7 separate regions of the Homo sapiens genome follow, and all the other regions are linked to region 1. Evidence: promoter capture Hi-C in 16 types of primary human blood cells and fetal thymus (Javierre and others, 2016). All regions are on one chromosome and are shown on one strand. Each heading gives the region's core, a stretch centred on a gene start or on the middle of the fragment in contact. The rest is flanking DNA. Distances are from core to core; before and after follow the strand shown.

Evidence for each region. The method cuts DNA at HindIII sites, captures the fragments that hold promoters and counts their contacts. A CHiCAGO score of 5 or more calls a contact.
Region 2: a fragment that was not itself captured here is called in contact with the fragment with the promoter of GPR32 in region 1 in 1 of 17 cell types (M2 macrophages); the score reaches 5.1 in M2 macrophages.
Region 3: a contact is called between a fragment that was not itself captured here and the fragment with the promoter of GPR32 in region 1, in 16 of 17 cell types (M2 macrophages, M0 macrophages, endothelial precursors and 13 more). The highest score is 47.0, in M2 macrophages.
Region 4: a contact is called between a fragment that was not itself captured here and the fragment with the promoter of GPR32 in region 1, in 6 of 17 cell types (M2 macrophages, M1 macrophages, M0 macrophages and 3 more). The highest score is 7.6, in M2 macrophages.
Region 5: a contact is called between a fragment that was not itself captured here and the fragment with the promoter of GPR32 in region 1, in 3 of 17 cell types (M2 macrophages, M1 macrophages and M0 macrophages). The highest score is 7.2, in M2 macrophages.
Region 6: a contact is called between the fragment with the promoter of KLK5 here and the fragment with the promoter of GPR32 in region 1, in 5 of 17 cell types (M0 macrophages, M2 macrophages, erythroblasts and 2 more). The highest score is 10.2, in M0 macrophages.
Region 7: a contact is called between a fragment that was not itself captured here and the fragment with the promoter of GPR32 in region 1, in 3 of 17 cell types (M0 macrophages, M2 macrophages and M1 macrophages). The highest score is 16.4, in M0 macrophages.

Annotation. Positions count from the first base shown.
Region 1 is chr19:50,768,329-50,772,375 of GRCh38, reverse strand. GPR32 (G protein-coupled receptor 32) reads right to left here and starts at 1,912. Exons shown (of 1, transcript NM_001506.2): 1 at 644-1,912. The coding sequence starts at 1,775. The coding sequence ends at 705. The HindIII fragment of the contact is 17,473 bases long and covers 1-4,047 here.
Region 2 is chr19:51,014,980-51,019,026 of GRCh38, reverse strand. KLK10 (kallikrein related peptidase 10) reads left to right here. Exons shown (of 6, transcript NM_145888.3): 3 at 1,737-1,917; 4 at 2,871-3,145; 5 at 3,477-3,610. Among named protein-coding and RNA genes, the nearest start is that of KLK10, 2.7 kb to the left of the region's middle. The HindIII fragment of the contact is 6,023 bases long and covers 1-4,047 here.
Region 3 is chr19:50,535,693-50,539,739 of GRCh38, reverse strand. All of the region lies in intron 2 of LRRC4B (leucine rich repeat containing 4B), which reads left to right. Among named protein-coding and RNA genes, the nearest start is that of ASPDH, 24 kb to the right of the region's middle. The HindIII fragment of the contact is 4,058 bases long and covers 165-4,047 here.
Region 4 is chr19:50,551,328-50,555,374 of GRCh38, reverse strand. All of the region lies in intron 1 of LRRC4B (leucine rich repeat containing 4B), which reads left to right. Among named protein-coding and RNA genes, the nearest start is that of LRRC4B, 15 kb to the left of the region's middle. RefSeq lists an enhancer at 2,702-3,613. The HindIII fragment of the contact is 9,365 bases long and covers 1-4,047 here.
Region 5 is chr19:50,583,912-50,587,958 of GRCh38, reverse strand. No RefSeq gene overlaps it. Among named protein-coding and RNA genes, the nearest start is that of LRRC4B, 18 kb to the right of the region's middle. The HindIII fragment of the contact is 3,635 bases long and covers 403-4,037 here.
Region 6 is chr19:50,950,325-50,954,371 of GRCh38, reverse strand. It overlaps KLK5 (kallikrein related peptidase 5), which reads left to right and starts at 1,334. Exons shown (of 6, transcript NM_012427.5): 1 at 1,334-1,625; 2 at 1,704-1,787. The coding sequence starts at 1,715. All of the region lies in intron 1 of LOC105372442 (a long non-coding RNA gene), which reads right to left. The HindIII fragment of the contact is 21,591 bases long and covers 1-4,047 here.
Region 7 is chr19:50,923,855-50,927,901 of GRCh38, reverse strand. It overlaps PPIAP59 (peptidylprolyl isomerase A pseudogene 59), which reads left to right and starts at 285. Exons shown (of 1, transcript XM_047439804.1): 1 at 285-1,035. The coding sequence starts at 285. The coding sequence ends at 824. The HindIII fragment of the contact is 1,390 bases long and covers 1,715-3,104 here.

The DNA of each region.
Region 1 (4,047 bases), core at 663-3,162:
AAATTACCCAGGTAGCACATGCCTATAGTCCCAGGTACTAGGCAGGGTGAGGGGAGGTGGGGGGTGGGGCGTGGGGAGTCCTGAGGCAGGAGAATGGCTTGAGCCCTGAAGGTCAAGGCTGCAGTGAGCCGAGATTTTGCCACTGCGCTCCAGCCTGGGTGACAAAATCAGACCCTGTCTTTAAAAAATTTTTAAAAAAAAGAAAAAGAGAGGGAAAGAATGGGCCAGGTGCAGTGGCTCACGCCTGTAATCCTAGCCCTTTGGGAGGCCGAGGCAGGCGGATCACAAGGTCAGGAGATTGAGACCATCCTGGCCAACGTGGTTAAACCCCGTCTCTACTAAAAAATATACAAAAATTATCTGGGCGTGGTGGCACGTGCCTGTAATCCCAGCTACTCGGGAGGCTGAGGCAGAATTGCTTGAACCAGAAAGTCAGAGGTTGCAGTGAGCCGAGATCGCGCCACTGCAGTCCAGCCTGGTGACAGAGCAAGACTCTATCTCAAAAAAAAAAGGGGGGGGGGGCGGGGAAGAATGGACACTGGGGAGTAAGTAGCTGTCTCTACCACAGAGCTTTAGATGAGGGGTTGCTGGAAGACTTCCTGAAAGAAGAGGCAGGATTTGGCAGGGTTTTAGAAGCCAGTCAAGGTAAGAGGCCACAAGCAAACTAAGAAGGACGGCTTCCAGCTTCCAGCTGAAGTCTTCCATCATTCCCGGGGGGCGTTGCCACGGGGACAGGATGACAGAAACTCCTCCTCTCCAAACGCCCTCGCCAGGGCAGAAGTCAAAGACTGGAAAAACTTTTCTTGGAAATCTCTGCCAACGAAGACGTAGAGGAAGGGGTTGAGGCTGCTGTTGACACAGCCCAAGGCAAAGCTAGCCTGGAGGATGAGCAGCATCCGGGGGTGGTAGATTTCCTTGAGCATCACCCGTCGCCACAGATGGACCAACAGCACCACGTTAAACGGGGACCAGAAGATAAAGAAAGCGCTCACCAGCACCAGCAGCAGCCTCTTGGGCCGGTTGGCATGGACCCAGCCCTCCCGCAAGAGCTTGGCCCGGATGAGGTGGGCGCAGGTGCCTATGATTGCTAAGGGCCCCAGGAAGCCCAGCAGGAAGTGGCCAATGGTCCCTATAATGTGTCCCTCCACGACCCCTTCAATCCAAATCTGGGCAGTCTCATTGTCAGAGTTGAACGCCAAGTAGCAGTGCGTACAGCCATTCCATTTTCTGGTTGTCCGGAATTTCAGGTGCGCAGAGCACAAGGCGGCGGCCAGGAGCCACACCCCAAAGGCCAGCCAGCTCGCCCGCTGCACAGTGCGGTGGTTCAGGGCCCAGACGGGGTAGAGGACAGAGATGCAACGGTCCACAGAGATGAAGACAAGGAGGCAGTTACTGGCAAAGTAGCTGAGGAACACAAAGGTGATGTAGAGTTTGCAGGCCCACTCTCCGAGGAGCCACTGCCTGGAGACAATATAGTACATGGCAATGGGCAGAGACAGTGAGAGCATGAAATCGGCAAGGGCCAGGTGGAAGAAGCAGACGGTGGAGACCGTGCGTGCCATACGGAAGACAGTCATCCACAGCACCAGCCCATTGCCCAGCACTCCGACGACAATGGACGCAGACAGGATAACCACAGTCAGTGGGCGGAGGGACCCCACCTCCTCAGACAGGCATCCGGAAGAGTTCATCTTCCTGGAACAAGAGCGATCACGTGTCAGGACCCCAGGTTGCCTGTCACTGCAGCCTCTGGTCCCCTCCGAGACCCCATTCATGATTTCTCCATTCCATAATTTTTATGGAATGCTTATTATTATTATTCTTTTAGAGACAGCGTCATGCTCTGTCACCCAGGCTGGAGTGCAAAGGTACAATCACAGATCACTGCAGCCTCCACCTCCTAGGCTCAAGAGATCCTCCCCCCTCAGCCTCCTGGAGTAGCTGGGACTACAGGCACTTACCACCATGCCTGGCTAATTTTTTTACCTTTTTTTTTTTTTTTTTTTTTTGACACAGAGTCTTGCTCTCTCTGTCACCCAGGCTGTAGTGCAATGGTATGATCTCGGCTCACTGCAACCTCCACCTCCAAGGTTCAAGCAATTTTCCTGCCTCAGCCTCCCAAGTAGCTGGAACTACAGGCACATGCCACCACACCTGGCTAATTTTTCTGTTTTTAGTAGAGACAGGGTTTTACCATGTTGGCCAGGCTGGTCTTGAACTACTGACCTCGTGACCCGTCCACCAGCCTCCCAAAGTGCTGGGATTATAGGTGTGAGCCACTCTGCCAGGCCTTAAATTCTTTTTTGTAGAGATGGGGTTTTGCTGTGTTGCCCAGGCTGGTCTTGAACTCCTGGCTTCAAGTGATCCTCCCACCTCAGCCTCCCAAAGTGCTGGGATTACAAGTGTGAGCCATTGAGCCCAGCCTGAATGCTTTTTATGACACAATAATATTGTTCTTTTTTTTTTTTTTTTTTTGAGACAGAGTCTCCTTATGTCACCCAGGCTGCAGTGCAATGGCACGATCTCGGCTCACTGGACACTATAATATTGTTCTAAGTACTGGACATAACTCGTGTAACAAAACAAGCCCTCATGGAACTTACATCCCAGTGAGAGATGTCAGGTGTAATACATATAATAAATTTACTTCATGATATACTGCTTTAGAAGACTACAAGTGTTATGGAAAAATAATAAATGAAATGGAGGGGCCAGGTGTGGTGGCTCATGCTTGTAATCACAACACTTTGGGAGGCTGAGGCAGAAGGATTGCTTGAAGCCAGGAGTTCCAAACCAAGGTGGGCAACATAGTGAGACCGTCTCTACAAAAAATAAATAATTACAAGTTTTTGTGGCCATGCACAGTGGCTCACGCCTGTAATCCCAGCACTTTGGGAGGCTGAGGTAGGCGGATCACCTGAGGTCAGGAGTTCGAGATCAGCCTGCCCAGCATGGCGAAACCCCGTCTCTACTAAAAATACAAAAAACATTAGCTGGGTGTGGTGGCAGCCACCTGTAATCCCAGCTACTCATGAGGCTGAAGAATCACTTAAACTTGGGAGGCGGAGGTTGCAGTGAATCAAGATCGCGCCACTGCACTCCAGCCTGGGTAACGAGAGCGAAACTCCGTCTCAAAAAAATAAAAATAAAATAAAATTTAAAAATTAGCCGTGAGATGGGCGTAGTGGCTCATTCCTGTAATCCCAGCACTTTGGGAGGCTGAGGCTGGTGGATCACTTAAGTTCAGGAGTTCGAGACCAGCCTGGCCAACATGGCAAAAGCCTGTCTCTACTAAAAATACAAAAATTAGCCAGGCTTGGTGGTGCGTGCCTGTAATCCCAGCTACTCTGAAGGCTGAGGCAGGAGAGTCCCTTGAACCTGGGAGGCAGGGGCTGCAGTGAGCCAAGATCGTGCCACTTCATTCCAGCCCAGGCAACAGAGCAAGACTCTGTCTCAAAAAAAAAAAAAAAAAAAATTAGTCAGGTATGGTGGCACGTGCCTGTAGTCCCAGCAAATTGGGAGACTGAGACACGAGGGTCACTTGAGCCCTGGAATTCGAGGCTGCAATGAGCCATGGTCACGCCATTTCACTTCAGCCTGGGTGATAAAGCGAGACCCTGTCTCAATAAAAATAAAGTAAAAATAATGAGATGGAGGTTCTTTTAACTTTGGATAATGTCAGAGTAACTTTGTCAGACAAATGGTGCCACAGACAAAAAAAAAATTAAAATCTGGACAAAATATTAAAAATTACTCCACTATTTGAAAAAATTGGCAGCAGAAAAGTCTGTCAATCCAGAATTTTATATTCTGTGAAAATATCTTTCAAAAATGAAAGTGAAAAAAGGGCATTTTCAGATAAGCCAGATCTGAAATAATATATGGCCTACAGACCGCAGGAATTGCTTAAGGAAGTAAGTCCTCTAGGCTGAAAGGAGTTAATATCACATGGTGACACATATTGACAGGAAGAAATGAAGATCATGAAATGTTTTCTTTAGAAAAAGATCAAGGTAAGGCCAAGCGCAGTGGTTCACATCCGTAATC
Region 2 (4,047 bases), core at 1,034-3,533, 250 kb before region 1:
GGGGCGGGGAGAGGCGCCGGTGGGAGGCACGGGCGGGAGGAGAATGTGTTCCCGTCACCAAGCCCCGCGCACCTCTCCTCCCCCGAGACCCCAGCACCCACCCAGCGCTCCGGAGCACGGCCCGCCCCCAAGTCAGCTGGGCCCTTCTTCTGGCTCGGCCCCTGGGTGACCCGCCCCACTCAGGCCCTGTCCGATTTCTGCCACCCGGATCCTCGCTCTTCCGTGGACTCTTCGCCGCGTTCTTTCTCCTCCTCTTACGCCGCCCCATCCCGGCCCCGCTCCATTTTACACTACCGTGTTTTGTTTTGTTTGTTTGTTTGTTTGAGACGGAGTCTCGCTCTGTCGCCCAGGCTGGAGTGCAGTGACGCGATCTCGGCTCACTGCAAGCTCCGCCTCCCGGGTTCACACCATTCTCCTGCCTCAGCCTCCCGAGTAGCTGGGACTACAGGCGCCCGCCACCAAGCCCGGCTAGTTTTTTGTATTTTTAGTAGAGATGGGATTTCACCGTGGTCTCGATCTCCTGGCCTCGTGATCCGCCTGCCTCGGCCTCCCAAAGTGCTGGGATTACAAGCGTGAGCCACCGCTCCCGGCCACACCACCGTGTTTTATCCTGAGTCTTGCCTTACCGCTTTTTGCCCTCTCCCCTCACTTTTTTTCTTCCTCTTTCCCTTTCTCTCTCTTTTTTCTTTTTCTTTCTTTCTTTTCTTTCTTTCGTTCTTCTTTTCCTTCCTTCCTTTCCTTCCTTCCTTTCGTTTGTTTCTTCTTTCTTGTTTTACTTTCTCTCTTATTTTTTCTTCTTTCTTTCTTGTTTTTTTCTTTCTCTCTCTTTTTCTTTCCTTCTTTTTTTTTTTTTTTTTTTTTTGAGACAGGGCAGTGCTCTGTCTCCGTGGCTGGAGTACAGTGGCCCAATCAGAGCTCACTGCAGCCTCGACCTCCTGGGCTCAAGCGATACTCAGCCTCCAGAGTAGCTGGTACCACAGGCATGCACCACCACATCCGGCTTTTTTTTTTTTTTTTTTTTTTTTTGAGACAGGGTCTCACTCTGTCGCCCAGACTGGAGTGCAGTGGCCCAATCTCGGCTCATTGCAACCTCCACCTCCTGGGCTCAAGCGATCCTCCCACCTCAGCCTCCCAGGTAGCTGTGACTACAGGCGCATGCCTCCGCGACTACTTTTTTGTTGTTGTTGTTGTTGTTTGTTTGTTTTTGTAGAGACTGGGTCTTGCTGTGTTGCCCGGGCTGGTCTTGAATTCCCGAGCTCAAGCGGTCCAACCGCCTCGGCTTCCCAAAGTGCTGGGATTACAGGCGTAAACCACTGCGCCCCACCCCTCTCCTGGTTTTCAATCCCGTTTTGTTATTCACACCCCTTCCTCTCCCCGATCCCCGAGTTCTATCCCCGCACCCTTACCTCCCCGCCGCGTTCAATCCCCGCCCCTCTATCGACCAGCGACGTTCTAGCCAGCTCTCCAGGCGCGCTGCGTTCAGTCCCTGCCCTCCAGACCCACCCTATTCTGTCTCATTACTCCACGCTACCCTATCCCAGCTTCCTTCCACTTTCACGCGCTTCTTCTCCTCCCATTCCCTTCGGTGCACGCGAAACCCCCAATATTTCCCTACCACCCTCGCGTTCTGGCTGCGTCCCCCGTCCCCGAACGCAGTCCAGTGCCACAGCCCAGCTCCAACCCCAAACCCAGACCCTGCCCTCCGTGCTTTGATTCCGTCCCCTTTCTTTCTCCAGCCGCAGAGGCGGCGCTGCTCCCCCAAAACGACACGCGCTTGGACCCCGAAGCCTATGGCTCCCCGTGCGCGCGCGGCTCGCAGCCCTGGCAGGTCTCGCTCTTCAACGGCCTCTCGTTCCACTGCGCGGGTGTCCTGGTGGACCAGAGTTGGGTGCTGACGGCCGCGCACTGCGGAAACAAGTAGGAGGAGATCCATCCCCGAGGACGCCACGGGGGGCTGTGGAGGCGGCCTCCAGGGAGGAGCGGGCAGGGCGGGGTCTCTCGGAACTCCCACAGCTGGAGGTGCGGTCCCCGGTGTCCTTCCAGCAGGAGGAGAGACCGGGCTTGCGCTGTGGCCGCCAGGGGGCGGTGTGGTCCTTTTCCGCATTTCTGGGCCCGTCACTCCTCTCCCGCTGATTCTCCTTGAGCTCTAGGAGGAGGTGGTTGCCTGCAACGGATAGAAGCCAGGGTCCGGTGTGGTCAGGAATTTAGAACTAAAGGAAAAGGTTCACTTCGTGAGTCCCCGTTGAAGGAGGAAGGGTTGGGTATTACCACAGAGAAAATGTGGAGTTGGGCTGGGCTCGGTGGCTCACGCCTGTAATCCCAGCACTTTGGGAGGCCAAGGCGGGTGGATCACCTGAGGTCAGGAGTTCAAGACCAGCCTGGCCAACATGGTGAAACCACTTCTCAACTAAAAATAAAATAAAATAAAAAATAAAAAATTTTAAAAAAATTAAAAAAAAAAAAAGGCTGGGTGTGGTGGTGGGTGCCTGTAATCCCAGCTACTCAGGAAGGAGGCTGAGGCAGGAGAACTGCTTGAACCTGGGAGGTGGAGGTTGCAGTGAGCCGAGATTGCGCCATTGCATTCTAGCCTGGGTGACAAGAGCGAAACTCTGTTTCAACAAAGAAAAGAAAAAGAGAAAAGAAAATGTGGAAGGCTTACCTAGGTGTCCAGGCCCCCAGCCCTCCTCAATTCCTACAGATCCTCAGAGCTCAAACAACTGATTCCTCCTCCCCATGTCCACTGAGGTCCCCTTCTCCCACAAGGCCCTCTTCCCTCAGACTCTTCCTATCTCCAGGCCCTGCGTCACTGCCCACCTGCTTTCCCAGTCCCTATGAAGGGTTTGCCTTCACATGCCTCTTCCTTCCCCCAGGCCACTGTGGGCTCGAGTAGGGGATGACCACCTGCTGCTTCTTCAGGGAGAGCAGCTCCGCCGGACCACTCGCTCTGTTGTCCATCCCAAGTACCACCAGGGCTCAGGCCCCATCCTGCCAAGGCGAACGGATGAGCACGATCTCATGTTGCTGAAGCTGGCCAGGCCCGTAGTGCTGGGGCCCCGCGTCCGGGCCCTGCAGCTTCCCTACCGCTGTGCTCAGCCCGGAGACCAGTGCCAGGTTGCTGGCTGGGGCACCACGGCCGCCCGGAGAGGCAAGAGCTGGGGCTCTGAGGCCGGAACCTCAGGAGGAGGGGGCTGAGGGCCTGAACCCCTGGGTCTGAGGAAGGATGGGCTGGGGACTGGATTCCTGGATCTGAGGGAGGACGGGCTGGGGTCCTAGATGCCTGGGTCTGTGAGTCTGAGGGGAGGAGGGGCTGGGGGCCTGGACTCCTGGGTCTAAGTGGGGAGGGGCTGGGGCCAGGATTCTTGAGTCTGAAGGAGGAGGGGCTGGGGCTTAGGATAGAAACGGTCTTGTATCTGGACTCCTGGCTCCCCAAGGATTGGGGGCTGGACCCAGGGATTACTGGCATATTCTCCCTTCAGTGAAGTACAACAAGGGCCTGACCTGCTCCAGCATCACTATCCTGAGCCCTAAAGAGTGTGAGGTCTTCTACCCTGGCGTGGTCACCAACAACATGATATGTGCTGGACTGGACCGGGGCCAGGACCCTTGCCAGGTAGGGTCTGAACAGGGAGAGTCTCTGACTCCTGGGAGGGAGGACAGGGAGGTTATGGGAAAAGAGCAGACCCTGTGCCCGATCCCCAACTCCATTCCCAAACCCATCCTTGACCCCAACTCTTACCCAGACCTAACCCCCTCCTCATCCCTATCCTCAATCCCATTTCCATCCCAACCCCACCCCATTCCCATCTCCAAGCCCATTTTCATCCCCTCACCTTCCATGAACTACAATCCCAACCCCAGTCTCACTGTGCCTTCATTCTCATCCCCCAGCCCAACCTCCCATAACCTGAAGTCCACCTCCATTCCTACCTTCCAGCTCATACCTAATTCCAACCCCATCCCATCCTCGTCTTTATCCCAACCCAACTCCTTCCTTCCCCACCACTGCCCCAGATCCCAAAGTGACAGCTCTCACGTTGGCACATTTAT
Region 3 (4,047 bases), core at 944-3,443, 230 kb after region 1:
GATTTTTGTATTTTTGGTAGAGACGGGGTTTCACCATGCTGGCCAGGCTGGTCTCGAACTCCTGACCTTGTGATCCACCTGCCTCGGCCTCCCAAAGTGCTGGGATTACATGTGTGAGCCACCACACCCAGCCAATAACTTTTATAATCAGAACAAATTAAGCTTTAAAAATACTAAGTATAAAATCCTATGCAAGCTGGAAAGAAAAAAAAAAGGCTATACTGGAATTTGCTCACCTTTTCCTAAATGAGGAAAAAGAAACAAAAATTTCAAAGCATTTATCTGGAGCAGGGGGTCAGGGAGCGCTCATCTAACCCCATTTATTCCTGTGAGGGCAGGATGACTTCTCCCATCTTATGGACGTGGAAATGGAGGCACAGGCTCTGAGTGACTTATCCAAGGTCGCCCAGCAAGCTGTAGCCCCCATGGGCTTGCCATGTGCCTCAGAAGGTATATATGTCTGTCCCACCCTGAGAGTCAGTGTGGAGAAGCCAGGCCCAGACAGCCAAAGTGGGGCAGCTACAGGATGGTAATTCTGTTGCAAAAACAAAAAACAAAACCTGGCCGGGCACGGTGGCTCACGCCTGTAATCCCAGCACTTTGGGAAGCCAAGGCAGGTGGATCACAAGGTCAGGAGTTCGAGACCATCCTGGCCAACATGGTGAAACCCTGTCTCTACTAAAAATACAAAAATTAGCCGGGTGTGGTGGCGGGCACCTGGCTACTTGGGAGGCTGAGGCAGGAGAATCGCTTGAACCCAGGATGCAGAGGTGGTAGTGAGCCGAGATCGTGCCACTGCACTCCAGCCTGGCGACAAAGCAAGAATCCGTCTTGAAAAAAAAAAGGCGGCGTGCGGTGGCTCGCACCTGTAATCCCAGCACGGTGGCTCACACCTGTAATCCCAGCACTTTGGGAGGCCAAGGCAGGTGGATCGCTTGAGCTCAGGAGTTTGAAACCAGCCTGGGCAACATAGCAAGACCCCATCTCTACTAAAAATACAAAAATTAGCCAGGTGTGGTGGCACGCACCTGTAGTCCCAGATCCCTGGGAGGCTGAGGTGGGAAGATTGCATGAGGCCAGGAGGCAGAGGCTGCAGTGAGCTGTGATTTTGCCACTGGACTCCAGCCTAGGTGGCAGAGCAAGACTCTGTCTCAAAAAAAAAAAAAAAAAAAAAAAAAAACAAGACAAAACCCAAACTAACCAAATAAAAACCCCGGCCATAGTGCATTATCAAGGCAAATACCAAGAATAGCTTTTAAATTACCCACTAGTTCGCATTTTCCAGGCGGCTGATCCCTCCAGGGGCATGAAACATGGAGCTTTTGATTGGACAGACTTTTCCCAGTTAGAGCCCTTTAAGGAAGAAAACGGTGGGAGGGCCGGGCGCGGTGGCTCGCGCCTGTAATCCCACCACTTCGGGAGGCCGAGGCGGTTGGATCACCTGAGGTCAGGAATTGGAAACTAGCCTGGCCAACATGGCGAAACCCCGTCTCTACCAAAAATACAAAAATTATCTGGGAGTGGTAGTGCGTGCCTGTAGTACTAGCTACTCAGGAGGCTGAGGCAGGAGAATCACTTGAACCCGGAGGCAGAGGTAGGTTGCAGTGAGCTGAGATTGTGCCACTGCACTCCAGCCTGGGCAACAGAGAGAGACTCCATCTCAAAAAAGGCAAAAAAGAAAGAAAGAAAGAAAATGGCGGAAGGGAGGATCTGTAGAGGGGAATCTAGGAGCTGACCTCTCTTGAGGTCAACTGGGACATTCCCCAGCCGCGGGCCTGCGACCAGCAGCCAGGAGGTCCTCTGGATAGGAGGGAGCAGTGCGCCCTCTGCCGTCCGTTCCCGGGCTGCTGAGACTTCGTGTCTAACTGCGGCCTCCCTGGCTCTCATTCCAGCTGAGTTATCCTCTTCATTCCCTCAGCAGCGCCATCTCGGGGCCCACATAATCCTTGTCACCACTCCGAGCCTCAGTTTCTACCCTTTTCAAATAGGATTTCCCATACTTTGTCAGTTTCTTCTTAACTTTTTCTCATGATGACTCACAGCACACTTACAGAAAAGAACAGTCGGCCGGGCGCGGTGGCTCACACCTGTTAAAGTTAAATTGACAAAGGCGTAGAATTGCTTGGCGTCCTGCAAAGCCACATGGCCCCTGAGCCTCGGGACAGGCTGCTGGGTGGGAGTATCAGTCCCACATCTCTGTTGAGCAGCCTGCGAGTCCTGAGAGGCACAAGACCCGCGTTCTCCCCTCCACGAATGACGCTAAGGCGTTGAGTCACCTCTCTGAGCCTGCCTTCTCGTCTAGAAAATAGACCAATTATTTCTACAGCTCAGCGAGGGTGGGCGGGAGAATGTCAGTCGGGCCCCCAGCATTGCTCCAAGCCCTTTACAGGGTCAGTGAATTTCAGCCTCACGACAGCCCCCTGAGTAGGTCCTATTCTTCTCATGTTACAGATGAGGAAACTGAGGCATAGGAGAGTTAAGACACTTGCAAACGGTCCTGGTCCCATGGTTAGTAACGGAGCTGGGACTCGGCCCAGGCAGGCTGGCTGCAGAACTTGGTTTTTTCAACGCGATTCGTAATGCTTCCTAATTCGTAGCTATCCCTGGCGCTGCACCCTGGTGACTCAGTCTCAGAACTGCCACTGAGTCCCAGTCTACATCCCCACAGCCCAGCCTGGCTCTGGCCTTGTCCTTGCTCATCTGGAAGCCCCAGCTTCTTCCTAGCCTCCCAGATGTAGCCTGTACCCACACACCCCTGCCACCACACCCAGCTGGAGTCGCCACACCAACTCCTCCTAGGGGACACCTTTCTGCAAGCCACCCTGTCCCCATCTCAGATCAGGATGAGTATGCCTGGCGCTCCCAGCTACACCAAGCTCAGGGGCACCCTCTACTGGGCACCAGAAGCTACCCCAGCCCCTTCCTTCCCACCCTTCCAGAAACTTGCCCTGCCTTTAAATAGTCACAGACAGATGTGCTTGCCCTGTGCCAGGCGCTCTTCTCCATGGCTTACAGATATCGAGACAGTTTAATCCTCACAAGGATGCCGTGGTCTCGTCACCACCCCGTGGCGAGTCTAGGAGCTGAGCTGAGACCCGTGCATCTTTCTCCCTGCATGGGCTGTCCCTCCTGTGTCTGAACAGCCCCGGCTAATCCATCTGCAGCATTCAGTGCAGCCCTGATTTGTTTATTGAGCACCTAGTGTGTGCCAGGCACCACCCGAGGCCCAGAGAGCAGGACATACAGAGATCCCTGCCCTCTCGACACTGCGTGCAGAAAGAGGTCGTTCAGAAAGTCGGCAAGTCTCATCCGGGCACAGTGGCTCACGCCTGTAATCCTAGCACTTCGGGAGGCTGAGGCGGGTGCTCACTTGAGGTCAGGAGCTTGAGACCAGCCTGACCAACGTAGTGAAACCCCATCTCTACTAAAAATACAAAAATTAGCCAGGTGTGGTGATGTGTTACTGTAATCCCAGATACTCGGGAGGGTGAGGCAGGAGAATCGCTTGAACCTGGGAGGCGAAGGTTGCAGTGAGCTGAGATCATGCTATTGCACTCCAGCCTGGGCGACAGAGCGAGACTCCATCATAAAAAAAAAAAAAAGGAAGGTAAACAAGTCCAGTAGCAGCGTGCACGAGCTGGCGGGGGGCTGCTGAGCTGAACATAGTGAGGGGAGGCCAGGGAAGGCTGCCCAGGAAGCGGTGTAGGCCCATGGCCTGTGCCTCAGCTTAACCCCACTCTCCCACCCCACCCGCAGGTGCCTTAGGCAAAGTCCTGCTGCCTTGCTTGGTCTTGCACATGCCTCTGATATAGATCTCATCCCCTTGTTGTTTACACCCAGGTTCAGATGCCTCTCTGGGCTCCTGGTGGTGGGGAAGGGTGGGAGGCGGGTAGCCATCCAGCCAGACTTTCCACCCAGGCCAGGGCCTGGTCCCAGAAGGGCTCAGGAGGCCACTCCCAGGAGGATGAATGGGAGGAGGGAGACAGGGACGTCTAGGCCTGAGCCGGGTCAGTGTGAGAATCAGGGGCCCACAACGGCCCCTGCAGT
Region 4 (4,047 bases), core at 389-2,888, 220 kb after region 1:
GTACCCTTGTGATGGGTCCTCTCCCGGGGCAGCTGCGGTGGGAGAGGCAACCGTGGTGACCTGGCTAAGTTCTGGGACTGGGGTTCCAATGCCGGCTGTGCTGCTGGAGGGCTGTGTAACCTTTGGCAAGTGCCGCTCACCTCTGAATCTGTAAAATGGGCACAAGAACCATCCCTTCCTCCCAGGGCCGTGGGGAGAAGCCAGCAGCTTGAGGAGTGGATAGCATGGCACCCACATGTAATCAGTATTTCCCATCACTACTAGGGGTGCGTGGGGGCAGAGGGCAGTCCATGGAGCCTCTGCCAGCCGGGCGTGAAGCCGTGGTGGGGTGTCGGGCGTGTGATATCCTGTGCAGTGCGGGTGACTGCAGGGGCTGAGGAAGGGTGGCTGTTCAGCATGCCTGTGGCCTTGCCTGCACCCTGCCCCCCACACACAGGCAGCCTCCATGGGAATTGTTGCTGCTGTCAGGCCACACTTGGGGGTCTTTGGGGCCCCTGGACTCTGGCAAGGCTGACCTAGGAGGGGCCACTTCCTAGCCGTGTGTTTCGCATTAGGCAACTAACAGTACCTCTGTGTGTCTCAGCTTTGCTAGCTGGGAACTGGGTGTAATAGCAGTCTTCTCTCAGAGGGTTGATGTGAACTGCGGTGGCTAATGCAAGTAAAGCTCCCAGAATGGTGCCCAGTCAGTGCCAGATGTGTGTTGGACGTTACCACCTTTGGTGGTGTCATTATTCAGTGAGTTCACGCAAGTCAGATGTGTGTGCGGAAGAGATGAGGTTAGCCAGCATTCCTGTTATCCAGGTCAGAGGGCTCTATCTGGGGACAACTGGGGCCAGGTGCCCTCTCAGTATGCAGCTGTATCCAGGAGTGTAGCTCACGCAGGTGGTATCTGAGGTTTGGGCAGAGTGGTAGCTTTCCTCTGGGTGCACGGAGCTGCGCTGGGGACCTCCTGTTTGGAACCTGAGGTGTAGTATCTGGGACTTAGCCATCCGGGTGGTGCTGGGGCACGGAGGGTGACCCAGGGCATGGAGGGTGACCCGGGACATTGGTGTCCAGCTGACGTGAGATGTGTGCTTCCTCGGCCAGGTACGGTGGCCCACACCTGTCATCCCAGCACTTTGGGAGGCCAAGGCAGGTGGATCACTGGAGGTCAGGAGTTCAAGACCAGCCTGGCCCACATGGTGAAACCCCCGATTCTAACTTAAAATACAAAAATTAGCCGGGGTGGTGGTGAGCGCCTGTAGTCTCAGCTACTCAGGAGGCTGGGGCAGGAGAATTGCTTGAACCCAGGAGGTAGAGGTTGCCATGAGCTGAGATCGCGCCACTGCACTCCAGCCTGGGCAACAGAGTGAGACTCTGTCTCAAAAAAAAAAAAAAAAAAAAGGTGCTGCCTCTGCCAGCAGGCCTCCTGGGATGGAAGGGGACCTGGGGACCGAGGGTGTCCAGGGCTGGGAGCCTGCATTGTGCAGCTATTGCAGTGCGGCCTGGCTCGGTGTGCAGAACGGAGAGTGGGGGTATCTGTGTGTGAGCGTGGGGGGAAATAGACTCACAGTGATGATAACGTACCCATCCGTCCCTGCACCCAGTGTTTGGTGAGCAACTGCCATGTGCCCAGCACTGTTGTGGGTCCTGGGAACCAAATAGTCACAAACTGACTGCCCTCGGGAAACTTGCCTTCAAGCGCACGGACCCATATAAAAGCTCAGATGCTGATAAATGTCATGGAGAAAAAGGAAACAGAGAAGGTTCTGGAGAGGGATAGGGGTGCTGTTTGATGCGGGGCGGTCAGGACGGCCTCACTGAGAAGGTAGCATTGGAGCACGGACCTGATAGAGAGCAGGGCAAGAGCCCTGTGGACAACCGGCAAAGAGCATTCCAGGAAAAGGGAAGAGCAGGTGCAAAGGCCCTGGGGCCGGGGTGTGCACGGCCTGTTCTGGAAACAGCGAGTGAGCAGGGGGAGGAGGGAAGCGATGAGGTCAGAGGAGGAGCTGGGGTGGAGAGTGGAGACCTGAAAACTGAAGTCCTCATCTCTGCTCTGAGTGGGACGGGAGCTGTGGAAGGCTGTGGAGCAGAGGCGGGGCAGGGTCCATGGGGTGTTGACAGGATACCCCTCGCTGCCCGTGGGGAACGCACGGGGAGTGGGGGTGAAGGCAGAAATGGGGAGGCTGGAGGGGAGGACACTGTAATCGTTCAAGAGGGAGATGGGAGCCAGGTCAGGGAAGTAGCCTGGGCGTGGGGAGAAAGATCCTCTGATTCTGGGGTCTGATTCCGCATATGTTGTGAAGACAGAACTCTTTACCAAGGATTTAGCGATTTAATCCCCACAGTGGCCCTAGGAGGCAGATACTCCCATTATCCCTGTTTCACAGTGGAGGGAACTGCAGCTTGGGAGAATAAGCCACCGGCCCGAGGTTACACGGGAAGTGGCAGCAGAGTCAGGACTCAAACCCAGGCCTCTCGGCACTCACCAATGTGCCCCACTCTCGAGAGGTGCCTTTTGTGGCCCATGGGTGTCCTGGGCTAGTGTCTAGCACATAGCAGGGACTGGGTAGACATTTGTTGGACAGATGGATGGAAGGATGGATGGGTGGACGGATGGATGGATGGATGGATGGGTGGATGGATGGGCGGAGGGATGGAAGGACGGATGGATAGACGGATGGACGGATGGGCGGATGGATGGACGGATGGATGGATGGATGGATGGATGGATGGATGGATGGATGGACGGATGGGCGGATGGATGAATGGATGGATGGATGGATGGATGGATGGATGGATGGACAGATGGATGGACGGATGGGTGGACGGATGGATGGACGGATGGATGGGCGGATAAGTTGAATGAATGAACGTGGCTGCCCTGCAGATTTTGCAGAAGTGTGTCAGGAGGTGGATGTCAGGATCTGGCTAAGGTCCAAGGGAGAGGGGTTCCTCTAGGGGTGGGGGCCTTTGTGGCATGGAGAGGGGCTGGCCCTCAGCCACGGGACGGGGTGACGGTGCAGGGCGCAGGTTCCAGTGCCGGTATATCAGGTGTGGTATATCAGGGTTGGAGTAAAGGCTGTGTGGCATGGTGGGGGTTCAAAGGAGTTCCTGGGGTACAGGGGCATCTGCAGGAAAACGCTGGGCAAGATTGTGTGCCTAGACCCAGTGGGGGGTGTGAAGCTGGGGGGTTTTGGCTGGAAGTGGGGGCGAGGGGGTCAGTGGTGGCCCAGCCCGGTCATGCAGCCAACGAGGCTGTCTGTGTGCCATGAGGCTCCGGCTTGGCACGGCCCAACCACCCCCCTTTCTTGGGCAGCCCAGCCGGCAACCTTCCTCCCCCGCTTCCCCCGACCTTCCTCGGCTGCCTCCTCGGCTGCCCAGAACCAATGGGTTAATTAGATAACGGAGCCTTTGATTAGCGGGGGAGGGGGAGGCCTCCCCCAGGCGGCGCAGGGAAGGGAGGCTGAGGAGGAGGGAGGAGAGGCGCCCTCCCCGTTCAGAAGGAGAGAAAGAAGGAGGGAGGGGTGGGGAGGGAGGGAGCTGAGGCACAGCTTGGCTCTGCACTGCCGTGTGACTAGAAATTGTAATCGCGGAGAAAGAGAGAGACAGACAGAGCCGGGGAGAAAGGGACCAAGACAGACGGACAGACAGACAACCTGACTGAGACGGGCTCAGGGCCGATGAGAGGGTGACAGGGATAGAGCAAGAGGGAGGAATAGATGGAGGAGAAGGAGAGAAGGGGCCTGGGGGTCCCGAGGGAGGCAAGATTGTGAGGGGGGAGACTCAGGAGGGGGTTGAGGCCAGAGGAGGTGGACGGGGACCAGAGGCGGAGGGGGAGGACCGAGAGGGGCAGAGAGAGAGTTAAGGGGGCTGGGGTCGGTGGGTGGAGAGAAAGGAGGCTGCGGTCGGGGGAGAGTCGAGGTAGAGGTGGGAGAGGGGGTGGAAGGAGACCGGAGGAGGCGAGCGGGGAGGGGAGCAGAGAACTGCTGCAGTGGCCAAAGGACAGCCCCCCCCAGGGGTGGGAAGGGCGACAGGCCAGTGGGGGGGGCGCGGGGAGACCCAAGA
Region 5 (4,047 bases), core at 971-3,470, 180 kb after region 1:
TTTCTTCCTTTTACAAAATTATTTTTAGGCTGGGCGCAGCGGCTCACACCTGTAATCCCAGCACTTTGGGAGGCCGAGGTGGGAGGATCACTTGAGCCCAGGAGTTCAAGACCGACATGGACAACATGGCAAGACCCCATCTCTACAGAAAAAAAAAAGCAAAAATTAGCTGGGCATGGTGGCGCTCACCTGTAGTCCCAGCTACCGAGGAGTCCGAGATGGGAGGATCACTTGAGCCCAGGAGTTTGAAGCTGCAGTGAGCCATGATCATGCCACAGCACTCCAGTCTGGGTGACAGAGCAAGACCCTATCTCAAAAAAAAAAAAAAAAAGAAAAGGAAAATTACTTTTAAATTGTACAAATAATATACAGATAGACTTTCCTTGCTTCTTAAAAAAAGCTTACAGGCAAAGCTAAAATTCCCTTTGGTCACCTCTCTCTCATCTACATCTCTTCTCTGGAAGTAACCATGATTATTGGTTTATGGTTGATCCTTCTGGATCTTTGTCTAAAAGTGAGTGCATGCTGCATGTGTGTGTGTGCATGCATGTGTGTGCATGTGTGTGCGTGTGTGGTAATAGAGTATATGCATAGTATTGTATAGTAAATGAGTAGTATTGTTTTGAGCAAGCATATGAGTGTCTTTTAACATAAATGGGATCCTACTGTACATATTGTTCTGCAGCTTGCTTTTTTAACTCAACAATATGTCTTGGAAATCTATCCAGATTTATTTAAAGAGCTTGTCCTCTTCCTTTTAAAAGCTGCAGTAGTATTCCATAGAACTCGGCGTTTCTTTGTCCGCTCTCCTCTTGCTGGACATTTGGGTTATTCTTGGTTTCTTTGCTTTTACAAACAATGTTGCTATGAACATCTTTACATGAGTTTCCTTGGAGACATGTCTAATAAGGAGAGTTAGAATTATCAAGTTATATGAATGTATTCATTTTAATTTTAATAAACAATTCCTGGAACTGTCAAGTATTTCTACATAACAAATACCAAAAACTCAGCAACTTCATGTGTTCTTGATCTAGCCAGGCTTTTCTGCTTTTTTGTTTATTTGTTTTTTGTTTTGTTTTGTTTTGAGACAGTCTCTCTCTGTCGCCCACGCTGGAGTGCAATGGCACAACCTCGGCTCACTGCAACCTCCGCCTCCCGGGTTCAAGTGATTCTCCTGCCTCAGCTTCCCAAGTAGCTGGGACTACAGGAATGCACCACCACGCCTGGCTAATTTTTGTATTTTTAGTAGAGACAGGGTTTCACTATATGTTCGCCAGGCTGGTTTTGAACTCCTGACCTCAAGTGATTCACCTGCCTTGGCCTCCCAAAGTGCTGGGATTACAGGCGTGAGCCACTGCACCCGGCCTAGCCAGACTTTTCTAGGGCTGCTCTGCTTGAAGCTGCAGGTCTGGCTGGCTCAGGTCCGCTCCAAGCATCTCATTCTGGGGCCCAGGTTGAGAGAAGGTAGGCTGCCAGGGAGAGCGTCTCGTGGTGACGGCTGGGGCACAAGCGGACTAGAGGCAGATGCAAGGCTTCTGAAAGCCTAGACTCAGACGCTGGTGCATCCACCCACATGCCATTGGCCAAAGCAAGTCAAGTCAAGTCAACTGTGCAGAGTTAAAGGGCAAGGAAGCACCCCACATACACGATGAGGCCGTGGCAAGGGTGTGGAACCATTGGTAGACATACTGATTTTCACTTTTTGTGTGTGTGTTTGTGACAGGGTATCGCTCTGTCACCCAGGCTGGAGTGCAAAGGCGCGATCTTGGCTCACTGCAGCCTCCGCCTCCCGGGTTCAGCTGCTCCTTATGCTTCAGCCTCCCGAGTTGCTGGGATTACAGGTGCCCGCCATCACACCCAGCTAATTTGGTATTTTTAGTAGAGACGGGGTTTCACCATGTTGACCAGGCTGGTCTCCAACTCCTGACCTCAGGTGATCCACCCGCCTCAGCCTCCCAAAGTTCTGGGATTACAGGCATGAGCCACTGAGCCCAGCCTGATTTTCTTTCTGCTGGTAATGGGACAGAGGACCTGTTCCCCCACATCCTCATCAGTGCTTTTTTTTTTAAGCTGAGCCTCTCTCTGTTGCCCAGGCTGGAGTGCAGCTGTGCGATCTCAGCTCGCCACAACCTCCGCCTCCTGGATTCAAGCGGTTGTCCTGCCTCAGCCTCCCAAGTAGCTGGGATTACAGGCGCTTGCCACTATGCCCAGCTAATTATTGTATTTTTAGTAGAGACGGGATTTCACCATGTTGGCCAGGCTGGTCTGGAACTCCTGACCTCAAGTGATCCGCCTGTGTTGGCCTCCCAAAGTGCTGGGATTACAGGAGTGAGCCACTGGCCCAGCCCATCTCATCAATGCTTACTACACCAGTTAACTTTGGTTTTGCCAGTCCTATGGGGGGAATATATATTGATTTCCTCTCCCTTAAGGCTATTGTCAGCCAAAACGCAGCACGAAGTAGAGGGAAAGTACCAGGTGGAAGAGCCTGTCACCGATAAGAGATCCTCCACCTCAGCCTCCTGAGCAGGCACGTATCACCACGCCTGGCTAATTTTTCTGATTCTTTGCAGAGACGGGGGTCTCCCTATGTTTCCCAGGCTGGTCTCAAACTCCTGGGCTCAAGCTATCCTCCCACCCTGGCCTTCCCAAGTGCTAAAATTATAGGTTACTCTGTCTCAAAAAAATAAAAATAATAAAATTATTAGTCAATAAGTCAGGAGTGGCTGGGTGTGGTTGCCCACGCCTGTAATCCCAGCATTTTGGGAGGCTGAGGAGGGCAGATCATTTGAGCCCAGGAGTTCGAGACCAGCCTGGGCAACATGGTGAAACCCCATAAATACAAAAATTAGCTGGGTATGGTGGTGGGCACCTGTAATCCCAGCTACTTGGGAGACGAAGGCAAGAGAATCACTTGAACCAAGGAGGTGGAGGTTGGAGTGAGCTAAGATTGCACCGCTGCACTCCAGCCTGGGTGACAGAGACTCTGTCTCAATAACAATAATAATAATAATAAAATTATTAGTCAATAAGGCAGGAGTGGCCAGAAATGGTGGCTTATGCCTATAATCCCAGCACTTTGGGAGGCCAAGGCGGCTGGATCACTTGAGCCCAGGGGGCTTGAGCCCAAGAGTTTGAGACCAGCCAGGGCAAACATGACAAAACCCCATCTCTACAAAAAAATACAAAAATAAGCTGGGCGTGGTGGCAGGCGCCTGTAGTCCCAGCTACTCAGGAGGCTGAGGTGGGAGGATTTCTTGAACTCAGGAGGTGGAAATTGCAGTGAGCTGAGATTGTGCCACTGCACTCCAGCCTGGGTGACAGAGCAAGACTCTGTCTCAAAATAATAATAATAATAATATGGCAGGGCCGGGCACAGAAGCTCACGCCTGTAATCCCAGCACTTTGGGAGGCTGAGTCAGGCAGATCATCTGAGGTCAGGAGTTTGAGACGAGTCTGGCCAACGTGGTGAAACCCCATCTCTACTAAAAATACACAAATTAGCCGGGCATGGTGGTACCGGCCTGTAGTCCCAGCTACTCTGGAGGCTGAGGCAGGAGAATCGCTTGAACCTGGGAGGCAAAGGTTGCAATGAGCTGAGATTGTGCCACTGCACTCCAGCCTGGGCAACAGAGCGAGGCTCTGTCTCTAAAAATAAAAAATAAAAATAAAAATAAATAAAATAAATAAATAACTTAGGAGTGAAATGAAAACAGGCTACAGGTAAAGCAGCATCCCCAGATCACATGTACTCCATTAACACTTAAGTTTTTTTCAGATTTGGCTATAATAAATGATTCTATGAGATACATCTCTGTGTGTATATTTTTGTCTACCTCTCTGATGACTTCCTGAATATAAGTTCCTATGAGTTGAATTGCTGGGTCATTAACAAAAGTTTTCTGCAGAAGCTAAAGCAATTTTCACATTAACTGTTTCATTTAGTTCCTTTTATAAAGCCCAAAGGCATAGCATTACAACAGCTCAGTGATTCCTTCCTCTGCCCATCAAATGAGCAACAAATGTTTTAAGCTTCTACCAAAT
Region 6 (4,047 bases), core at 85-2,584, 180 kb before region 1:
GCCACTACGCCCGGCTAATTTTTTTGTATTTTTAGTAGAGACGGGGTTTCACCGTTTTAGCCGGGATGGCCTCGATCTCCTGACCTCGTGATCCGCCCGCCTCGGCCTCCCAAAGTGCTGGGATTACAGGCGTGAGCCACCGCGCCCGGCCATGATCATCTTCTTGACTATGCTGATGTGACAAGTACCTAAAGCCATCAGACTCTACCCTTTAAATATGCAGTTTGGGCCAGGCACCGTGGCTCATGCCTGTAATTCCAGCACTTTGGGAGGCAGAGGTGGGTGAATCACTTGAGGCCAGGAGTTTGAGACCAGCCTGGCCAACATGGTGAAACTCTGTCTTTACTAAAAAAAAAAAAAAAAAAAAAAAAATCAGCCGGGTGTCGTGGGGCACACCTGTAATCCCAGCTATGCTGGAGGCTGAGGCACGAGAGTCACTTGAACCCTGGAGGCGGAGGTTGCAGTGGGCCGAGATCACATCACCGCCCTCCAGCCTGGGCGACAGAGCAAGACTCTGTCTCAAATAAATAAATAAACAAACGAACAAGCAGTTTGTTGTACCTTAGTTATATCTAAAAAAAAAATGCTGTCAACAAATAGAGCAGAAGTGAAATAAAGGAAAATAAATGGGCCAAGAACTCTAAGGTATATTTGACAAATCATTCAGAACCTTTAAAAAAGAAAGAATCACAGAGGCATAGAAAGACAGGGAGGAACAGGGAGACAGAAACACCTGTGGCCCAAGGAGAACAAAACAAGGCTCCTAAGACAGACAGGAGGAGAGAGAGAGAGAGTGAGTGAGAGACAGACAGAGAAAAAGACAGAGAGAGAGAGACAGAGACAGAGAGACAGAGAGGCGAGAGGGATAGAAAGAGAGAGAGGGGTGGAGAGAGACACGAGATATTGAGAGAGACTCAGAAAGATAGCCGAGGGAGAACCACAGAGAGATGGAAGAAGACTCTGAGAAAAAACCAGAGACAAAGATGGAAAGAGGAGTATCGAGGGTGAACAGACAGTGGTGGAATGAGCAAAATGCAGAGAAGAAAGCAAGCAATCCAGGCGCCAAGAATAGTGACCCAGAGTTGGTGAGAAGCCAGATCCTTAAGGCTGGGGGAGGCAGGGAAGGGGCTGGCCTGGCTTCCGGAGACCCCTCCCCATTCTCCGGGCCAGGGAGGTAGGGAGTGACATTCCGGACTGGGTGGGGGGTGCTCTGGGGGTGGAGATAGGGGGAGCAGGAGGAGCTATTGCTAAGGCCCGATAGGCACCTCATTGCCCGGGAATGTGCCCCAGGGAGCAGTGGGTGGTTATAACTCAGGCCCGGTGCCCAGAGCCCAGGAGGAGGCAGTGGCCAGGAAGGCACAGGCCTGAGAAGTCTGCGGCTGAGCTGGGAGCAAATCCCCCACCCCCTACCTGGGGGACAGGGCAAGTGAGACCTGGTGAGGGTGGCTCAGCAGGCAGGGAAGGAGAGGTGTCTGTGCGTCCTGCACCCACATCTTTCTCTGTCCCCTCCTTGCCCTGTCTGGAGGCTGCTAGACTCCTATCTTCTGAATTCTATAGTGCCTGGGTCTCAGCGCAGTGCCGATGGTGGCCCGTCCTTGTGGTTCCTCTCTACCTGGGGAAATAAGGTAGGGGAGGGAGGGGAAGTGGGTTAAGGGCTCCCCGGATCGCCTGGGCCTCCCAACCCTCTGACATTCCCCATCCAGGTGCAGCGGCCATGGCTACAGCAAGACCCCCCTGGATGTGGGTGCTCTGTGCTCTGATCACAGCCTTGCTTCTGGGGGTCACAGGTAACCAGAACTCTGGGGTGGGAGGGTTGTGGGATTGGGAGGACTGTCTCTGCGGCACTAGAGCGCCTGTCCCCTGGGGAACTGTGTGAGCCTGGGCATGACTCCGGGACCGGGTGAATGTGAGTCTCTGTCTGTACTTGTGGTTGTGCGATCGTATGTGGCCCTGTGACTGCCACGGTGTGTGTCGGGGAGGGGGATGCCTTTTCCCATATCAGGTGACTGTGCGGCAGGTGGCACTGACCCTTTGAGGCTGTGTGTGTGGTTTTGTGATTGTGTGTGCATTTAAGATTGTGTGTGGCTCCACAGCTGTGTGGGTGAATGCATGTAGCACTGGGGGTGTTCACTGTGTGTTTGGCTGTGTGTGGTGACTTGGCATTGTATATGACTGCAGGTATCTGCAGTTCCTGTCCCTGAGGTCCCGGGATTGCGTGCAACAAAAGTGGTCATCACCATGGAAAGCTGTGACTGTGTGCTGCTTGCAGGCGATTATGTGATTGTGGCTGAGTGTGACGTTATGGATGCCCGTATTTGTGACCGTGTGACTACCTGAAGCTCTGTGTAGGGGTGACTGTATGTGACTGTGTGTGTCTGTGTGAGGCCGTGTAAATGCTACTGTATGTGTGATGGTGCAGCTGTGTGTCTGGAGTTTCTGTCTCTGCCTGGAGGGATAGAGGGTGCAGGGGTAGCTATCTCTGGGAGATGGGTGCCAGGTGACTGACTTGCAGTGTGTGCCTGTGTGCAGAAGAGTATGTGGCAGTCTGAACATCTGTGCACACACGGCATCTGTGCGTGGCACTGAGACACTGTGGATGAGGGTGTGCGATCCCGCTAGGCTGCCCGGGAGCGTGTGTACCTGGAGACAGAGCTGTATGTTAGCTGCACCTGTGGAGGCAACATGGGCGTGTCTGCAGAACTGCGTGCGTGCTTGGCTGTTACTGCTGTTGTGCGCGTGGTTCTTGGGGTGAGTTCGTGAATGATGGTGGTGCCAGGGCCATCAGCAAGGGTAAGAACCAGGCCGGGCGCGGTGGCTCACGCCTGTAATCCCAGCCCTTTGGGAGGCCGAGGCAGGCGGATCACCTGAGGTCGGGAGATCGAGGCCAGCCTGACCAACATGGAGAACCCCGTCTCTACTAAAAATACAAAAAATTAGCTGGTGTGGTGGCGCGTGCCTGTAATCCCAGCTACTCGGGAGACTGGGGCAGAAAAATCGCTTGAACCCGGGAGGTGGAGGTTGCGGTGAGCCGAGATCGCGCCATTGCACTCCAGCCTGGGCAACAAGAGCGAAACTCCGTCTCGAAAGAAAAAAAGAAAAAAAAAAGGGTAAGAACCAGTGAATGGGCACGGGAGGACTGATGATGGAGTGGGGCATGCATGTAGTCTGTAGGTCTGTGTGTGAGAGGAGGAGATTGACAGGATTGAGAAGGCATGTTTTCATCTGAGAATTCAGAAACCTAGGCCTGCTCTTCCCCTCCATGTGGCCCCCTAAGCTGAGCCCTTCTTTCCTGGTCCTGCTTTCGGAACCCTAGCTCCGCCCATGAGCTCTGACCCCACCTCCTTTCCTCAACCACGCCCCTAGGCCAGACTCTAGTGGACCCCGCCTAAGGCCACACCCCTTTGGGCCAGGCTCCACCCCCTATTCTGTGGGTACCTTCTAGAACCCCCTTCAAAGTCAGAGCTTTTTTTTTTTTTTTTTTGGAGACAGTCTTGCTCTCTCTCCCAGGCTGGAGTGCAGTGGCGTGATCTCGGCTCACTGCAACCTCTGCCTCCCAGGTTCAAGTGATTCTCGTGCCTCCACCTCCTGAGTAGCTGGGATTACAGGTGCGCGCCACCACGCCTGGCTAATTTTTGTGTCTTTAGTAGAGACAGGGTTTCACCTTGTTGGCCAGGCTGGTCTCAAACTCCCAACCTCAGGTGATCCGCCCACCTCGGCCTCCCAGAGTGCTGGGGTTACAGGCGTGAGCCACCGCCCCCAGCCCAAAGTCAGAGCTCTTTATAGGAGACTCTAACATGTAACCCTGACCCTGGCCCTAACTAAGTCAATTCCAAACCCCTTCCTGCCTCCAGCCCTGACCCCACTCACTGAGGCCTGACCCCACTTCTTGAGACCAGTTCCATCCCTAAAGCCCTGGTCTCCCTCCCATCCCCAGGCTCCAGCCCCCACAGCTTTGGCACTACCCCTGAGCTTGTCCAGGAATCCTGTACCCAATTTTACCCTCACATGTAGTTCTAGCCAATTCCAGGAATCTGTGAGGTCCAGTTA
Region 7 (4,047 bases), core at 1,160-3,659, 160 kb before region 1:
GGGGACCTTGATTTCAGACTTACAGTCTCCAGAGCTCTGAGAGAATACATTTCTTTTGTTTAAAGCCACCCAGTTTGTGCTAGTTCGTTACAGCAGCCCCACAGAACTGATACACGAGTGGGTCAGCTCTCGGTGTACACAGGTCCACTTGACAACAGCAGACATACAAAGGGCCATAAAGCACACGAAACAATGCTCAACTTCTTTCGTCATGAGAGGAAATCCAATTCAAGCCACAATTAGACGCTACCACCCACCCATCAGATCGGTTTTAAAAAATTAAAATAGGCTTTGCAGACACTGCCGCTGCGAGTCCTGTACTATCAGCCACGGTCAACCCCACCGTGTTCTTTGACATCGCCGTTGATGGAGAGCCCTTAGGCCACGTGTCCTTCGAGCTGTTTGCAGATAAGTTTCCAAAGTCAGCAGAAAAGGTTCATGCTCTGAGCACTGGAGAGAAAGGATTTGGTTATAAGGGTTCCTGCTTTCACAGAATTATTCCAGGGTTTATGTGTCAGGGTGGTGACTTCACACGCCATAAAGACACCGGTGGCAAGTCCCTCTACAGGGAGAAATTTGATGATGAGAACTTCATCCTAAAGCATACAGGGCCTGGCATCTTGTCCATGGCAAATGCTGGACCCAATACAAATTGTTCCCAGTGTTTCATCTGCACTGCCAAGACTGAGGGGTTGGATGGCAAGCACGTGGTCTTTGGCACGGTGAAAGAAGGCATGAAGATTGTGGAGGCCATGGAGTACTTTGGGCCCAGGAATGGCAAGACCAGCAAGGAGATCACCATTGCTGACTGTGAACAACTCTAAGTTTGACTTGTATTTTATCTTAACGACCAGACCATTCCTTCTGTAGCTTGGGAGAGAACCCCTTCACCCCACTTGCTTGCAGTATCCTAGAATCTTTGTGCTCTCACTGCAGTTCCCTTTGGGTTCCATGTTTTCCTTGTTCCCTTCCATGCCTAGCTGGATTGCAGAGTTAAGTTTATGATTATGAAATAAAAACTAAATAACAAAAAACTACAATAAATTCAATAAAAATAAATAAGATGAAAACGCCAAGATGTTGCACACTTCGTGGGGCACCTCGAACTCTCATACCTGGTTGAAGGGAGTGTCAAATGGTTCAACCGCTTCGGGAAAAAGTCTAGCAGTTTCTGATAATAAAAACCCCAGCCTGGGCCAGGTGCAGTGGCTCACGCCTGTAATCCCAGCACTTTGGGAGGCCAAGGTGGGCAGATCACTTGAGGCCAGGAGTTCGAGACCAGCCTGGCCAACATGGTGAAACCCTGTCTCTAACAAAAATGCAAAAATTAGCCAGGTATGGTGGTGGGAGACTGTAATTCCAGCTACTGGGGAGGCTGAGGCAGAACAATCACTTGAACCCCGGAGGTGAAGGTTGCAGTGAGCCGAGATCACAAAACTGCACTCCAGCCTGAGCGAAGGAGCAAGACTCTGTCTCAAAAAACAAAAATGAAAAAACACCCCATGATCTCACCAACCAGAGGAAACCAATGTTGACATTTGTGTGCGTGCGCGCGTGCGTGTGTGTGTATGTGTGTGCTGGACAGAGACAGGATAGCAGAGCAGCTAGGCACACAGTCTTCCGAGCCAAAATACAAGAATAATAGTACAAATGCAAGAATAATAGTACAACTTCACGGGGTTGTTTCAAGGATAATGGATTACTCAGCAAAGCTTTGGATTTGGATTTGGGTTTCAAGAAAAACTGTCGAGAAACCACTCTACCAAAACACCCCTGCAAGGCAGTAGACCAAGATGAGTGAAATTGTTCATCTTCACAATTAGGAGCTTGTCCTGAGTTTTTGTAGCTTTTTGAAACAGTGCACCTTAAGAAATAAGCCAGGTCTGCATCATCTATCTCCACTGATAACAATGAAGGGAGTCATCACTAGTTCTCACACTTAGTCACTGTTGTATAACTTACGCAACTGACTCAATGATGTTTCACAAAGTTTGTGACCAACTCAAAGGTGGTCTTTTGTTTTGTTTTGTTTTGCTTTTGTAGATAAAGTTTTATTGGAACACAGCCATGCTTATTCATGTATGTATTGAGTATGAGTTGTTCGATGAAGCAGAGTTGACTGGTTGATAACAGAAACCATATAGTCCACAGAACTTAAAATATCTTTAAAATTGCAATTTAAAAATATTTCCCTTATTTTATTTTATTTTTTATTTTATTTTATTTTATTTTTTGAGATGGAGCCTTGCTCTGTTGCCCAGGCTGGAGTACAGTGGCATGATCTCGGCTCACTGCAAACTCCACCTCCCGGGTTCAAGCGATTCTCCTGCCTCAGCCTCCTGAGTAGCTGGGATGACAGGTGTGCGCCACCACGCCCGGCTAATTTTTGTATTTTTAGTAGAGACGGGGTTTCACCATGTTGGCCAGGCTGGTCTCGAACTCCTGACCTCAGATGATCTGCCCACCTCGGCCTCCCAAAGTGCTGGGATTACAGGCATGAGCCACCACGCCCAGCCTGAAAATTTCTTTATGGTGATGAAGTAGTTCTGTATCCCAACTGTGGTGATGGTTACCTTTATCTATAGAGCTATAAGAACTAGATACATGAAAAGAGAGACAGAGAGAAACAGAGACAAACAGATGGTGGGGATGGGGTGGAGAGAGAGACAGAGAGAGAGATGTAAAAAATGATGAAATCCAAATAAGGTCTCTATGTGAGTTAACAGCATGGTATCAACGATGTTTTCCTAGTTTTGACAGTGTACTATCCTTATAAAAAATGTTACCATTGGGAGAATCTGGATGAAGGGTACATGGGCATTATTGCACTAGTTTGCAATTTTTGTGAGTTTTGAACTGTTTCAAAATAAAATGTCATAATAAAAATGTGTCTGGCATATCGGAAGTGCTCAGTAAAAAATATTGTCGTCCTCCTAGATCTCTCTGATTGCATTTTCCCTTCGACTTTATTTGCTGTATTGCCAGTGTCTATTTTCTGGCCAGCTCTAATCATTGCAGAATGAGCAATGAGATCCCTTTAGGAAAAAAAAAAAAGTTCCTCCCACTGAGTTCTCGCAGGCTGAAAGACTCTCTAGCAGAAAGCTTGACAGCCATATGTGTAATTATGAATCATCTGTAATTTTCACACCAGCTATTGTTTTATAACTTGTGTAATTATCCAAACAGTGTTTCACAAACCTTGACACTAACCAGGCATTACAGGTCTTCAATTCTGATAACAAGAAAGAGAATTCACCAAGTGGTCTAAGCTCCGGGAGACACGTTTCTTGGTGCGAAACCCAGCCTGGTGGCTAAAGGCAAGAGAAAAAAAAATAAAAACACATCTTTGTATGCATCTGTCCCTGTGCCACAAAATCCTGGAAGATGATCCAAAAAAACATATTCTAGTTTTTGTGTTTTGAAGAGGGATGAAGACAGGACAGGTTGGGGAACAAAGTTAGGTGGAGGTTTATCACTCTGTATTTTTTATAAACATATTTTTTTACCATGTAAAAATATTTTCTTCTTTTTTTTTTTTTTTCTGAGATGGAGTCTCACTTTGTCACCCAGGCTGGAGTCCAGTGGCGCGATCTCAGCTCACTGCAACCTCCGCCTCGTAGGTTCAAGCGATTCTCCTGCCTCAGCCTCCCAAGTAGCTGGGATTACAGGCACGCATCACTATGTCTAGCTAACTTTTGCATTTTTAGTAGAGACAGGGTTTCGCCATGTTGGCCAGGCTGGTTTTGAACTCCTGGCCTCAAGTGATCCACCCACCTTGGCCTCCCAAAATGCTGGGATTACAGGCATGAGCCATAGTGCCTGGCCGAAAATATTTTCTATTCAAAAAATTAAATAGAAATGATGTTACACACACACACTTGTGCCAGAGTCCCTGTGTCCAAACCTGGCTGCTCCTTACTGTGTGACCTTGGAAAATGACTTAAAAAATTTTTTTAATAGAGAAAGGGTCTCACTATATTGCCCAGGCTGGCCTCGAACTCCTGGACTAAAGCAATCCTCCCTCCTCGCCTCCCAGGATTAAAGGTG